Regions from separate parts of the Homo sapiens genome. Here region 1 is linked to region 2. Evidence: promoter capture Hi-C in 16 types of primary human blood cells and fetal thymus (Javierre and others, 2016). All regions are on one chromosome and are shown on one strand. The core of a region is centred on a gene start or on the middle of the fragment in contact, and the rest is flanking DNA. Distances in the headings are between cores, read along the strand shown.

Region 1 (2,776 bases), core at 106-2,605, 430 kb after region 2:
GGAGTCTTGGGAAAAGAGCTTGGTCTTTTGCTTGGAAGTTACTGGTGAATCTGGCATCAACTGGGTTGTAGGGTGGGATAGTGGTTGCATTCTGAGTTTCCATTTCAACTGAAGGCTTGGAATTGAGGTCTACTTGGCTATCCTCAAATTTGCAGGGTTGTACTCTGTAGTCAGCCTCTTTGTCCTCTTTGCTGTTGCCTAACTGGGGAAATATTCTGTCTTCAGACTGGCCACGTGTTTCATAGTAAGACAGCTGGTCTTTATGATTAGCTTGTCTGTCTGCTAAGTGGTCAGTCTGGTCAGATTCAGTGTAGTGAGCATTGTCAACTGGAGGTTGATCAGCATTACTATGAGCTTGGTCAATAGCCTGGTGTTCAGCTAGTTCAGTGGCTTGGCCGTACACTTGGTGGTGAGTCTTTACAGATGTTTTGTGGTCAACGAGGCCATACAATCTGAGGTCAGTCTGCTCAGAAGTTCCTGGGTCAGCCAGGCCAGCCAATCTGTAGTCAGTCTTCTCAGAACTTCTTCTCCTAACTTTCCCTGACATTCTGCGGTCAATCTGTACGGAAGGTCTTTGGTCAGATGGTACGGACGATCCACTGTCAATCTGTACAGAAGGACTTTGGTCAGATGGGACGGATGACCCACTGTCAATCTGCACAGAAGGTCTTCTCTCAGATAGTTTGGATAATCTGTGTGTAATCTGCTCAGAAGTTCTTCGCTCAGCCTCGCCAGACATTCTGCGGTCCATCTGCTCGGAAGCTCTTCTCTCAGACTGGCCTGCCATTCTGTGGTCGGTCTGTCTGGAACCTCTCTGGTCAGATGGCATAGCCAGTCTACCATCAATCTGCCCAGAAGTTCTTCTCTCAGCCTGGGTAGGTAATCTTCGTTCAGTCTGTTCAGCAGTTCTTTCCTCCGTCAGGCCAGACACCTGACCATCACTCTGTTCATGCTGTACATTATTAGCTTGGCTAGATGCCTTGCCTTTAGTCTGTTCAGACGGTGTTTGATTAACCTGATCATCTGCTCTAAGGTCAGAAACATCAGCAGGGTTGGATGCTCTGCGGCCAGCCTGACCAGGTGTACTATGCCCATTTTGTTCAGCTACTCCGTTGGTAGCTTGGCTAAATATGCTGGATTCAGCCTGGCTAGGCACTCTTAGGGCAGTCTGGTCAGCTATTCTGTGAGCAGTGTGGTTATCTGCCTTCCTTTCGGCCTGGTTCTTCTGGTCGTCTTCTTCCTGGCCCTTAGTGTGGCCAGCACTTGAGGGAGCGGCTGGGCTTTCATGTTTCAAGGGTTCAGCCAGAGCCTCTTGCGGAGGCTCTTCCATTTCCTGCCGCGTCCCTGACTGGTCTAGGTTGCCAGGCACTGTGGGTGGGGTTGGGCTGGGTCGTCTAGGCGACCCTCCAGGAACGCCCCATGATTCCCACGGGCTTTGTTCGGGTCACTGCGTGCGTCAGGGAGAGTGGCCGTCCCGCTGTTGTAAGTGGAGGGACGGCAGTCAGCTGACCCTGCAGTGTGCAGGCGAGCGCAGGGAGTACGCCATGTCCTGAGAAGGGGCGATTCTCAGGCTCTGGCAGTTACAGCTTCTCCTCACCCTGCCGAGCAACCAGGCCACGGGGCTCCGTGCATCGCCACCTAGAGTGTTACCCTCTTCCTTGTTCACAGAGGTTCTCCGCAGTGTGTGAGAAAGAGGCCCTCTCTCAGGTACTGCTCCTCTGATTAACATCCCCCACCGCACCTCCAAATGTCAACAGATGAACACACAACCAGCTGCACGAGGACCACAAAACTGAACAGAGGTTGTTGCTATTGCCATCCCCTTTGGGTATAGCTGTCTTGGCAGTGGAAACTCCTGCCCCAAGGTGTTTTCTTGCTGGATTAGACATGTGATCTGTGGCGGGAGAGCCAGAGAGAGGAGAGAAGATCCAGTGAGAATGGGTTCTAAAACTGCACCATCTAGTGGTCTTACAGCAGAGAGGCGAGTTAGAAGGAGGCCAAATCAGAGTTCCAGAAAGGAAGGGAGTAAGGAAAGTGGGAGAAAGATACCAGAAGGAATATTTAGCAAGTGGAGAATTTGTATTTGATAGTGTTGGCCAGTGGGGCCCAGTTTTTGAGATTTGGTCCTCCCACTTTGCAATCAACCTTAAGAATGCACCTCAGAGTCAGTAGGCTGTCTACTTTCAGGAGTAGGCCAGTACAGAGGTGGTGATTGATGAGACAAATTACTTTGACCTTGCAAAGCCTGAAATCACTGAGGCAGGCCAAGGGTTGGTAGTGTGATGCCAGATATTCCTTTAGTAGGGATTTAACTGCATTAAACAATTAGAAATGAGACTTAAAATCCAAATTCAAATACTTGTGACAAAGGAGAGTGGATACACTTGACACCATACTTAGGAATGGAAAGGGGAATCTAAGCACACTGAAGTAAAGTCATTTATGTAACAGTGCCTAGAACATAATAGGTGCTCAAGAAGTGCTTGTTGAATGTCACTTTATGAATTATCTACCTTATTTATTTAAAAATGCATGACACCATTGGATACTGTGTTTAGAGTAAAATAGGTCTTGGGCTATGGCTTGTAGCTTCAAAGTGCTATTGGTTTTGGAGATTTATTTTTCCATTTTATAACTTAAATGTAATAATCATAGAAATATAAAAAAGAAAGCGTAAAGAAAAAAATTCCCAAACACTCAAGAGATAACCTGTATTGACATTTTGATGTTTATCCTTCTGGAAATACCCCCATGCAAATCTATGTGTCTATATCTA
Region 2 (2,862 bases), core at 180-2,679:
TGTTTCTCTTAGAAATGATCAGCTTCTAGAGAATTCGAATCTCTATTAATAATATACCCACCATGAATGAAATCCCTGGTAAAGCGCTGGCTTCCCTGTTGGTGCATTTCCTAAGAACCCCCCTCTTTCAGCCAATTCCTCAGGGTTCCCTTCTCCCTGTGGCTTTCAGGTCAAAGCCCTCCATCCCATCCAGGCCAATACTTTTATAAGGGTCTGGCAGACTAGCTCATTCTCCCCTCAGGTGAAACTTTTCCCTCCCCTCCACTTATCTAAACCCTATTTACCCAAGGTCTAGTTCAAGTCAGGAGGCTTCCAGAAGTGCTTCTGCAGCTGCACTGCTGTTGGCCATGGAATGCAGGCTGGAGAGCCCCTGGAGAAGGAGTAAACGACGAAGATGGATGCGTTCCACTACCCAGTTACTGGTAATGCTGAGTTTCTGAGCTCACAAAGGATATTTGTAAATGTTATTTACATAGTTTATTATTTACAGTGAAGCCTAGGCACTGAGATTCTGGGCTACTAGACCTGACAGACACCCGGGACAGCGGTTTGCCCATCTGTAAACTGGAGGGGGAAGTGGGGAGGTATAGGCTCTCGGAAGTTCCGTCCTGCGCTGCGATTTTCAGACACTAGGCCAAGACACTCTGCTTCTTGGCCTCGGAGGACTAACTTTAACCCCCCATACCCTCCCTCTCAATGTCCTCATTGTCCTTTCCGTAATTCCTTCTGGCTCCACCCTAATGTGTGCTTCTGTGAATTGCAAGCTGGGATGGGGGAAGAAGACCGGCATCTTTTTTCGGTTGTAAATTCCCTTTAACGTTCGCTTTCAGAACGCTGTAATTACTTAACTCCTCTGAACTTTCACGGGTCACATTCTCGTACCCGAACTATACATTCAGAACTAAGATCTGATCAGCTGCTTCCGGGCCATGCCCGGCTTTGGAAAGAAACGGGGCGGTTGACACGCTCCCACGATTTGCAAGACTGGGAATCCTCATGGTCGGCCACACTCGGAGAGCGCCAGGGGCGGGGGAGGGGAGCGCGGGGCCGAGGGCCGGGATCGCGATACCTGCTGTAGCCTGGACTGGAACGCGCGAGCGACGGGCGTGGCGCGGGCTCCCGGGGCCGGGGAAGAGGCCTTGGCTGCTGCGGGTGGACGAGGGCGCGGGTTGGGGCGGAGCCGGGTCACCGGGTTCCGGGACTGTCCCCAGATAAGCAGGGTGGCGGCGAGGGCCCCCGCACCTGCGCTTGGCCGCGCTGAGTGAGCTAATCTTGGAGCCTCCAAGGCGGCTTCCTGGCACCGCCGCGCCCTTCTGCACCCAAGCGAGAGTGGACGGGACCTCCGTCGCCCGCCCCAAATGCTCTGAAGAGCCCGGAGCCTGGTGCCCGGAATGTGGCGGCACCGGAAAGCCGGCTCTCGCCTGGCTGTGGTCAGTGACTCCCGTGTGGCCCCGGCTGACGCCTTCGCCCGTGCTCACGTCCGACTTTGTAGGACTGTAGTGGACCGGGTGTGCCCAGATGCTTGAAGAGCGTACTGAGTGTGCCGCCCTTGCCAGGGTTCTGGGCCCTCACGCATAAAGTGGGATAATAATATCTGCCTCTTAGAATGGTTGTTAAGGATTCAGTTAGTTAATTTTAACTAGTCATTTATTTGGCAGCAGCGTAGAATTCTTGTATCCTGATCGTAAATAAAAGCAAAGAAAAACGAAGAGTATTTTTGTCTAAATACATTAATCATGTCACTTTTAAAGCAAATCAGAATCACCATATGCAAATATTCTATATATTTCTCCAAAGTTTTAAATTTGCTATGCCTATTTTCTTGCTGTAATGACTAGCCTTGGTCTGAGAGCTTTTTAAAAAATTGATATATAATTTATATATAATGAAATGTCCTTACACCATAATCGAGATATGAAATATTTCCATCACTTTAAAACATTCTCTTGTGGCCTTCCCAGTGAATAACCATCTCCATCTCCAACTCTAGCCTAAGTGACTTTTGAGTGTTTACAAAAATCAAGTTCACCAATAAGGGAGGCAGAGATCACCTCCAACCCCCTACACCCTCTAGCTCTTAGTGAGCTAATCAGCTGCATCTAGAAGCCAAATTGACACTAGGCAGATTAACAAGAGAAAAGTATACAAATTTTATTAATTTTACATGTACATGGGGATGTTAAGAGACTGAATCCTGAAGAAAGTGTCCAAAGCAAGATGCTTTTATACTTTTTAGAAAAAGAGTGATAAATTTAAGAAGAAGTGACAGGACAAAGAAAATCCGGCTAGGGTGGTAAAAAATTTCTAGGGGAGCCCCTAGGAGATATATGGGGGGTGGGGTGTAAAACAGGTGGAAGATAATGGTTACTTTGCAAGAATGTTTACTCCAGTCCAAATGCCACCTCCAGTTCCAAATCTCTGGTGATGAGAGCTATTTTCTCGCTCTGGCGTGGAGAACATACCTCTCCTAGAGGAATCTTTATTGCTGGCTGCATGCAGGAAGAGACAGCTCAGCTCCTGTCAGGGAACCAGGCTCATTTGTCTTTCACACAGTATGCCAATCACTGAGGCGCACAAGTTTTGCAGTAGAGAAAGGGTGTATTCACAAGGCAGCCAAGACAGGAGACTGGAGAACAGGCCTCAAATGTGCCTTTCCAAAGATGGAATTTTAGGAGTGCTTATGGGATAGGGGAGGAAGGTGGTCCAAGGTTCAGAGAAAGATGAGGTAAGGAAAAGTGAGGCAATCGGTAATCTGAGCAAGCATAGTCAATCTTCATGGCTGTTCATAGAACACATGTTCACAAAATCGTGACGTTAGCATGATCTGAGAGTGGAGTTTTGGGCCTTCTGATGTCAAAAGGT

The links. Contacts are between HindIII fragments. The CHiCAGO score rates a contact against its expected background, and 5 or more counts as called.
Region 1: a contact is called between the fragment with the promoter of TEX55 here and the fragment with the promoter of ADPRH in region 2, in 6 of 17 cell types (fetal thymus, naive CD4 T cells, total B cells and 3 more). The highest score is 8.9, in fetal thymus.

Annotation. Positions count from the first base shown.
Region 1 is chr3:119,144,744-119,147,519 of GRCh38, reverse strand. It overlaps TEX55 (testis expressed 55), which reads right to left and starts at 1,355. Exons shown (of 3, transcript NM_152539.3): 1 at 1-1,355. The coding sequence starts at 1,330. It also overlaps a transcript of IGSF11 not described here. RefSeq lists a silencer at 1,804-2,098. The HindIII fragment of the contact is 11,642 bases long and covers 1-2,776 here.
Region 2 is chr3:119,578,059-119,580,920 of GRCh38, reverse strand. It overlaps ADPRH (ADP-ribosylarginine hydrolase), which reads right to left and starts at 1,429. Exons shown (of 5, transcript NM_001125.4): 1 at 1,070-1,429; 2 at 285-370. RefSeq lists enhancers at 280-499, 1,440-1,539, 1,324-1,825 and a silencer at 1,120-1,259. The HindIII fragment of the contact is 4,349 bases long and covers 1-2,862 here.